Regions from separate parts of the Homo sapiens genome. Here all the other regions are linked to region 1. The links are contacts of gene promoters, found by promoter capture Hi-C in blood cells and fetal thymus (Javierre and others, 2016). All regions are on one chromosome and are shown on one strand. The core of a region is centred on a gene start or on the middle of the fragment in contact, and the rest is flanking DNA. Distances in the headings are between cores, read along the strand shown. Region 1 holds the start of HMGCS2 (3-hydroxy-3-methylglutaryl-CoA synthase 2). Region 2 has its middle 23 kb from the start of ADAM30. Region 3 has its middle 23 kb from the start of REG4.

What was found. The method cuts DNA at HindIII sites, captures the fragments that hold promoters and counts their contacts. A CHiCAGO score of 5 or more calls a contact.
Region 2: a fragment that was not itself captured here is called in contact with the fragment with the promoter of HMGCS2 in region 1 in 1 of 17 cell types (M0 macrophages); the score reaches 5.2 in M0 macrophages.
Region 3: a contact is called between a fragment that was not itself captured here and the fragment with the promoter of HMGCS2 in region 1, in 2 of 17 cell types (M0 macrophages and M1 macrophages). The highest score is 5.3, in M0 macrophages.

What each region holds. Positions count from the first base shown.
Region 1 is chr1:119,767,457-119,770,456 of GRCh38, forward strand. It overlaps HMGCS2 (3-hydroxy-3-methylglutaryl-CoA synthase 2), which reads right to left and starts at 1,449. Exons shown (of 10, transcript NM_005518.4): 1 at 1,285-1,449. The coding sequence starts at 1,388. RefSeq lists a silencer at 1,030-1,324. The HindIII fragment of the contact is 4,165 bases long and covers 1-3,000 here.
Region 2 is chr1:119,872,030-119,875,029 of GRCh38, forward strand. No RefSeq gene overlaps it. Among named protein-coding and RNA genes, the nearest start is that of ADAM30, 23 kb to the right of the region's middle. The HindIII fragment of the contact is 6,436 bases long and covers 1-3,000 here.
Region 3 is chr1:119,833,168-119,836,167 of GRCh38, forward strand. It overlaps the pseudogene NBPF7P. Among named protein-coding and RNA genes, the nearest start is that of REG4, 23 kb to the left of the region's middle. The HindIII fragment of the contact is 1,849 bases long and covers 500-2,348 here.

The DNA.
Region 1 (3,000 bases), core at 199-2,698:
GGAGACAATATGTGAGAAATACAGTAAGTGGAGGGCACAAGTCTTACCGAATTTTGAAGACAGCAAAGCAGATGCTGAGATGAAAGTCTCTTTTAGGTTGGAGTTAGAGCCAATGTGGGTTGGATTAAAGGCGATTAGACATATAGAGAAAAGGTGACTCATGAAAAGCAATATTAGTTCAAGCCATGCATAATGGGATTAACTGTGAATATACCAGAAGGGAAATGGGAATGATTCCAAGAGTTTGAACCAAGGGAGTCAGAATGTTGGGGAGGATTGATGTATGTCTTTTGGCTGATGGCCAACTATTGCTATTAAAACAAGAAACCCACATCAATCTCTTCTTCACAAATATAGAAACAGGTTAAATCCTGAGCTGGGACATTTAACCCACATGCAGGGTTTGGCAGTGCATGGGGAGAGTGAGATGATGGTAGCATAATGAAAAATATAAGAAAGCTATGTGCATTTGCCTCTACCATGCACATCTATACACCCAGGTTCCTTGGGTATTTGGCAAGGAAAGACACTAGGTCAAAATCATTTTTCTAAATATTTAGTAGTCATAGAATATAGAGTAAAAATGTAAGGAAATAAAGAACTAGTCCCAATGTGTAGTGGATGGTTTGGGGATTAGACAGAAACACATAGGTGGCTGGGAGCCTGAGGCACTAACGATAGCTGTGTTACCATCATCGCTGACAATGGAAAACATAAGCACTTGAGCCATGTTCAGGGACTATTTACAAAGAAAAGGAGTGTGCATGTTCTTCTTGCAAAGAGCATGTACACATACACACATAAACACACATTTCCCCTTTTCATAAAATTGGAACACAAGGCAAACACAGCTTCTCATCCTCAGTCCATTTCTGATTCTGCTGCAGTGATATAAAGTCACTGGTTTTACTAACACTGCAGTTGGCACAAGGTCCTGTGGTTCTAGGCAGAGGCTAGGGGTGAAGGTGGGAATGGTGGTGTAGAGAGGAAAGCTGTGGCCTGGTACTGATATTTCTACTGCTTCATGCAGCTGGCAGAGTAAAAGTTGCCATTGCTCACAAACACAGCATGTGTCAGAGGTTTGGGCTCTTCTCACTCTACAGCTGAAAGGGATTGTCTGTTTAGAGATGAGGTAACTGAGACCCTTTAAAGTTAACTTGCTTGTCTAAGGCTGCTGTGCACAAGCCTTGCCAAATTTTGAGTGGGATTCTAGTGAGTTTTCCCCAATAGCAGGGAAAAACTATCTTTTACTAGTTACAAGGTGCTTCTCAGAAAGTGACTCACCTTTGGTGGGCTACTGGGAGCAGGCGAGCAGGTGTGAGGGAGGTTTCCTGCACCGCTCTTGTCAGTTGCAGAATGCGCTTCACTGGAGTCAACAGACGCTGCATCTCCAGAGGAGCAAGCAGAAACCCAGCAGTTCAGAAACCCAGCAGAAACCTTGAAAGAGATGCCCAGTGGTGCCCGGCAGGACTTTATAAAGCCCCAAGACTCCTGCCTCCCTAAGCCCCGCCTCTGCTCACCGTGGCTCAGTCTGCTTCTAAAACTGGGTCAAAGGGCTCACTCAGAACACGGGCGAGTCAAAGACAAACAGCATCTCTCCAACATGTACATAGCTGCCCTGCTCCTGAGCATGTGTGGGAATGGCTGGGCATTGTTCCTCCTACTCCATCAGGCTCTGTGGCAGCCTTGATTCTGCCCAGCTACCTAAGCAGGAGGTTATGATGTTCCTTGTTGTATCACATCCCAAGGTAACCCTATGTGTCTTGTTTTAGACCCTGGCTCCTTATCTGTATTACTCTCACTGGGTGTTCCACACTCCTCTCTGTGGTGTTAGTTGTTATTATTTTAATGTGCTATGCATTATAAGAAACATCTTTCTAAACCAAAGGGAAACTCTTTTAATAGTAGCTTTTCAAGGAGTTGGGAGTGAGTGTTGGCACATAGGCCAAGGGCTGGGCGTTAGAGTATGTGGAACCTACTATATTTCTCCTGTTTATTGTCCACCCTTTTACTTGTACAGCTCTACACAATTTCCAAGTGGGATGAAATTAGTGTTGTAGTAAAGGGACAGGAGCCTCAAAGAGGTGACAGTTTGAAGCTCAATCTCCTAAGGAGGAAAGGTTTACTTTATAGATGAGGTCAGAGTTATGTATAAAGGAGTCATTTTCCCAAAGACCTGCAGCTAGGAAGTTGCAGAATGAGAACTCAACCATGTCTTTTGACTCCAGATTCTGGTCCTTCTGCTTTGCTCTTCTACTACTCAATAAAAAGGCTCCTGCCATCTGATTTTCCAAATGAATGTCTCCCTCCACTCCTCCCACAGCACCAATCTTCCTCTACCTTTTGTGAGTCATGCATTCACTCCTTAGTTCATTCAGTCATCCCCATCACCAACCCCCTGTCTAATATGAGTGTGTAGGGAACACAGAAAAGAGCTGGAGTGGTTCCTGCTTTAGGAGGATATAGTTGACTTCATGTTCCTACAGACAGAGAATGTCTAGGTGCCCCCAGCAGTCCAGGATATCTAGGTCTTCCATCTTATCTTTAAATTCTTATCTCCATATATCTTGGTGTGTTGGTGTTCTAACTCAATCTCCTACCTTGCTGTGTCACCTCCTGCTCTTACACTCAGCCTTTTGCAAAGTTCTGTCGTCAGTGAAATTCTTCATTTCCAATCTCTTCTCTGAAATACCTGTTGCTTCTTGTCAATCCAATGCACTTTAAATGCTTACAACAAGGCCTGTGTCCTCTTTGCTTCATACTATCTCTTCCAGGGTATTTCTCCTCTTCCTCCTCTCAAAACCCCTGCTGTCTTAAAGCACATGCTACAGTCTGTGCCACCCAGTGCCCTTATTCTTGCAGTCAACTAACTGTCATGTTCCACTGTCCCTCATTGATAAAATTTAAGCACATAGATCACTACTTTCCTCTCCACCATCAGTCATCTCAATGGATGTGAGATGTCAATCTCCACATAAGATAATTCACCTGCCCTAGCCT
Region 2 (3,000 bases), core at 128-2,627, 100 kb after region 1:
CTCCCATGCCCCCGGACACCATTACATGAATGACCACAGCCACACTGTGCCTAACAGCCACAAACTGGAAACAGCCCAGATGCCCATCATCAAGCATGTGCATAAACAGATTATGGTATATTTCACTAGCAACGAAAGTGGGTGAATCAGTGATGACTGTTAAATCCACAACATTTAGTTAAAAAAAAACCCAGGCATAAGAGAATACACGTGTATGATCACAGGTTAAAACCTAGACCCATCAGGAGGGCGGGCATGAGAAGCAGAAAATTATAAAGAACCAAACATCGTGAAAATCAGGTAATGGTCATTGCTAAGGATATGAGGGGTGCTGTGGTGAGGAAGGGGCATGTGGGAAGCTAGTATTTAGTCCTAGCTAGTGCTTGCATGTTAACATATGCAAGAATTTATACCTATGTTTTATTCAACTTCTGTATATTGCATTACACAATTAAAGAAAAAATATTATTTCTTGTCAGTACATATCCTAATAACTAATATTAGCAGAGCTTTTACCAGGAACCATACTGTGCTAAGTGTGCATTTGGGTTATTTCAGTCGGCACAGCATACTGAGCTGTGGGTACTATTATGTCCATATGACACACAGGGAAAGGATAGGAGGTAACCCTGGTCCCAGCCAGGCCAGCGATGTCACCAGGACTCTAGGAGGCCCTCTGTGCAGAGATGGTGCTGGCAACCACAAGCCATACCTAATGTCCCAGAGCAACAGCAGTGCTTCAGAGGAGCCTGGAGCCCTTTGTATTCTAAAGCCTGGGACTGTGGTGCCAAGTGCTTTCCGGGGGGAAAGGATTGTCCTGACTCCTGGGACCTCTCAAAGCAGAGAGTGTGGAAACTGGCACAGCACAGCACAGCCCAGTTACCTGCAGGTATTTTGTGAGCCCAGAGGATAGAGTTCCTTAAGGACAGGGTTGTCAGAGTGTTCCAGGTGTCTTAGAGGCATTTAGACAGGATGTCTAAAGGCAGAAGCAAGGGTTGGTAATCTCCAACAGAGTCCAGAAAATTTGGAGAGAATGGACAACAGAGATGAGACAGAGCCTGCAAGACATAGCATGAGATTCCCACATGCACTTCTTATGTTCTCCCGAAAGATCATTCCTGATGGAAACATGTGGAAGCATGCTTGCATGCATGCCTATGCACACACACACACACACACACACACACACACACAGAGCAACAACAAAATAAAAAATAGAAGCTGGCAGCAATGGTGCAGTGACCGCACTGCAGCCTTTTACTTGAACTTGATGGCACAGGGAAATGTCCTGACAGAAAGGGCAGGTGGTTTATAAGCCCCAGTGAGATGATGTTCTAGAGATATGCCTGGATACCTGGATGTTCCTTTAGGAAATGAAAATAGTCCTGAGGGTTGGATAAAGATGAAGCACTTTATTAAACTGTATTTGGCCTCAGGCCATCTTATCACAGAATTTCTGCTCTGGTAGATATCTACACGAGAAAGAAAGAGGTTTTAAAGACCCCAAAACTAATTAGAGCAGTGTAGATAAATGTTTTGTCTACATAGATTGTTATTTGATTTTTAAAAAAAGGTTCATTTCCTTCAGAATTAAAGTTGACCCTAAGCTCAGCTCACAAATTCTTCTCTGTGGCTGCTTTTGGTTTTGGGTTCACGCCTGGGGCAGATGTGATTTATTTTCTTGTGCTTGTTATTAATCCAGAAATGTAATTTCAGTGTGGGCTTGGAATAGTGCTCTGGGACATGAAGCAGAAGTGAACAATGGAGGTTAGGTGGATATGAGTCAAAGAAAACTGACCACACTTTCTCTCAGCTCTCTTTTACAGCATGATGAGCCTCAAGAGCTGGGGGAGGTTTCCATTGCTGTCAGTGCTCCCAGTTCAGTAAAAATGTTTGGCATGAGTTGACAAGTACATTTGCCAGAGGTGGTGCATGAGCTCCTTGTGTCTGGGAATGGAGATTTTCATCATGGTGCTTTTATTTTGAGCTAGATGTTCCTGTTTCAGTCCAGCCTCTAGCTGGTGAAGAGTTATTCTCTAGAATGAGGCTTTTCTCACAACCATCTTTCTATTTTTTTTTAAGACTGTAGGGATGGAGCTTTTTGATTGAGAGAGGAAAATACTTAAATCTGGGACTGGACAGGTATTCTCACTTATATTCTGCATGGAGGAATGGGAAAATGTGTCTCATATTTCAATTTATCTGCTGTCAACTTGATTGTGAGGACTCTACAGTAAGCCTGTTCTCTGAATTCTACCTCCTCACCCCAAATTCAGTTTCCTATCAGTTGGGCAGACTGCCACAGTGCTAACTGGAAGCACCCTTGCCCCAGATGTCCCAGAGTTGATTAGTGGCGCTGTTGGTGGAAACAGGGACAAGTGGATAGTCTAGCCCCACATGCAGGAGGTGAGACTGCAGGATCTTTCCTGCCCTGCAGTCCATGACTCAGGGTGTAGCCTTGGCTATGTTACAGGCACGATCCAGTTTAACTTCATGGCTCTCTAAGCCTCCATGGAATGATTGTAAGTAGGTTCAATAACATATTTATTGAACAACTACTACATGAAGTATATTATGCTAGATGCTGTAAGAGACACAAAGAAAAAATTAATTCCTATTTTAAGAGTAGTAAAATTCACTAGGGAGAAATAAGAAAGTCCACATATAGTCACACTAAGAAGTAGAAAGTATGTGTGAATGTGAATTTCTTTTTTTTTAATTTTTATTATATTTAAGTTCTGGGATACATGTGCAGAATGTACAGGTTTGTTACATAGGTATACACGTCCCATGGTGGTTTGCTGCACCTATCAACCCGTCATCTACATTAGATATTTCTCCTAATGCCTTCCCTCCCCTAGCTCTCCACCCCTTAACAGGCCCCAGTGTGTGATGTTCCCCTCCCTGTGTCCATGTGTTCTCATTATTCAACTCCCACCTATGAGTGAGAACATGTGGTATTTGGTTTTCTGTTCCTGTGTTAGTTTGCTGACAATGATG
Region 3 (3,000 bases), core at 174-2,673, 66 kb after region 1:
AGCCTCAGCATATTTAATTGTGGATCTGAACCAAAAGCCAAGGTGGAGACAAGGTGGGAAACACAGGCGGTCACTGGTATATGCTTGGGTTGAACTAACACCATAAGAAATGGCAGGTTAAGAGGTCAGAGAAGAGGAAAATAATATCTTTGGTTGTCATAGTGGTAAAAATTTAAATTCAAAAGAGAAGATTAAAAATGTATAAACCAAATATTAGAAGTGTGTCAAGTTAAAAGGGGACTTTTAAACATGATGCCAAAACATGTTTAGTGCACTTTCAAACATGAGCTACACAACCCTTCCTAAATAACAAACAAAAGACACACACACAAACAAAGACAACAAAATAACATTGACAAAGAAATGTAGTAAATACCATCTACTACTACATATGATAAATGTAGACTAAAATATGGAAGAGTTTGGAATGTAAACAGGGAAATAAGAATGTTTTTATTAATCTGTATCCTTACCCACCAAAAACAATCATAATAATAAAAGCTTAAAACATTGTGTGTAAAAAAAATTCACTAGTCCAGAGTAATAGGCAAGAATATTTTAATTAAACAGATTTAAAACATAAACATTTTAATTTTAATAGACTAAAATTAATCTTGGATGAAAGTTAAAATTTGGGCAGGGAATATTCTTTTTCACAACAGAATGCCAGCAGAAACAAGTTCATACTAAGGACTGAGATAAAAATTTCCAACGTACAAACATAAATATAATAACTGACACAGCCAGGGGTGATTAATTGATGATAAAATGCTCAGAGGAAGATTGTTAGAATACAGGTATTTGTACTTTTTCAAACCACTTTTCAAATTAATTATAAATCAGGTGTCTTTACAAGGGACAGATCTCCTAGACCCCTCCTTAACCAGGTAACCAGTCCTGATATCACAATAATGGTGATGGACAAACTGGACCTTCTCTGCCCGCAGATGGACTGAGGTTGGAAACTCACAGCATTGACTTTGCAGTGTTCCTGGCAAAACATTTAGGCTGAATTTAATCATAAGGAAATTTTCTGACAACTTCAGAATGAAGAAAATTGAGCCAGACAGCTGACGTCCTCTACAAACAAATCCATGTCACCACCATCAATGACAACAACAAAAAGATGAGGAGATACTTTGGGTTCAAAGTGACTAAAGAAGTGAGCTACATTATCTTTTCAATCCTTTTGAACCCAAAATGTCTCTTCTCTTTTTGTTGTGTGATTTGTGGTGACATGGATTGTGTGAAGGAGAGCGGTCAGTTGTCCTGCTCAGTGTTCTACATTCTGCAGTTGTCTGCTGATTACTTCCTATGAAACTCAGGCTAAGTGTTTTCCGCAAGAATATGGCATTGTTCATATTCTGCACTGGCAGAGTCCCGGGTGACATGCTGTCTCCTGCCAGCGGCTCCTGACTCCTGTTCTCTACAGGATGGAATTGAGAGGAGCAGGGCTAAGGCCTCTCAATGCTGTTTGTCCATCTGGGAATTGGTCTCCTTGGGTATTCATCTCAAGTGGAAATAGGATGAATTGTGGTTTCTCAAATCAAAGGAGCCTAGTGGTTTGCAATCATCAAGAGCATTCTGTGTCTAAAATTCAATCCTCAGTGAAGGAGCCCTGCAGTGTTGTGTTTGGAATTGAACTTGGTTTGCTGTTGTAGTTTTTTTCATCGAGCAGAAAAGCTACTTTTTGTGACATCCTTTCATCCTTTTCATCCTTCCAGCAGTATTTGGTATCTGTATGAGAGAGGAAAGGAAAAATGAAAAGAGCATCTATGTCAGGTCTTGCTGATGGCTGAGTTTGGAGGGATTGCTAAGTGGTGATAGCCCAGGGGCAAACTGAGCTTCTGCTGGGAGGATGAGCTGAAGCCTGAGCCTCCGGCTGGCTGAAGAGGCAAGTGCCGTCCACAAGTGAGAAGAAAACAACCCTGAACTTCCAGTCAGCCTGGAGTGCAGATAGAAGGACCTGCTTATGCCCAACCAGCATCCGATGACATCAGCCCCTTTCTTCCTGATCCCCTTTGTCCGGAGCAGAGTGATGGCTTTTCACACCTCCCAGGGAGGATGTGCTCAGCATCAACCATGCACACTCAGAAGCAGAGGGCTTAGAAGGAGAGGGCCCTTTGCAAAGAAAACCACCCCCTTACAACTCCATGTCCCAGTCTTTTGAGAAGATGCAGGAGAGCAGACTATTGGAAGAACCCAGGATATGAGAAGTAGCAGAGGCCTCAGACAATACTCACAAATAGGGAAGAGAAAAGCAGTGGGAGAATGAGCTATCATCATAGACAGAGAAATAAGGAGTGAGGGCCGCTAAGAGCCATAGATGTGATTACCTTCCTACTCTAAGCTTGCAGGCCAGAGAATCTGCATGCCAGTCTCCACTTGCTGAACGGCAGTTTTCTTTTGATCATTTTTGGTTTTAGGACACTTGAGGCGTGAATGTGGCCAATGACTTGATGCCCATGTGTGTTGTCAGCTGAACCTTCAAGAGCATCACCTTCCAGCTGGGGAGGGATCTTCATTGCAAGGGAAGGCTCTAAACCCAGCTCTGAAAATAAAACCACAGACAGTGGGATCCACTGGCATTGATGATCTTACTGTGACTTTCCTTCTACCCAAAGAACATCAAGTAAGGAAAAGTGACACCCAAAGGGTGAGGGGAAGCCAATGGAGTCACTTTGATATTTTCTTTTTTGTTGATCTTTCTCACATTACCCAGCAATGACAAGATTGCCAGGAAGCAAAGACACTCCCAATCCACAAAAATATTCAAAAAACATGTGTCATTCTAGACAGGTTGTGGGATGCAAAGAATAGGAAGCCTACCTGGGAAGCCAAGTGGAGTTTCTTCCCCTTTGGAATTGGAGTGTTCGCTGGCTACATCCTGAGCAGAGCAAACTTTCTGTTCAACTAGTGCCAAGAAAGTGCCTTCACAAGGTTGGTAAGATTGGGACACATCATGGTCACTACAAGAAGTCGTAACCCTTTCCTCCGGGG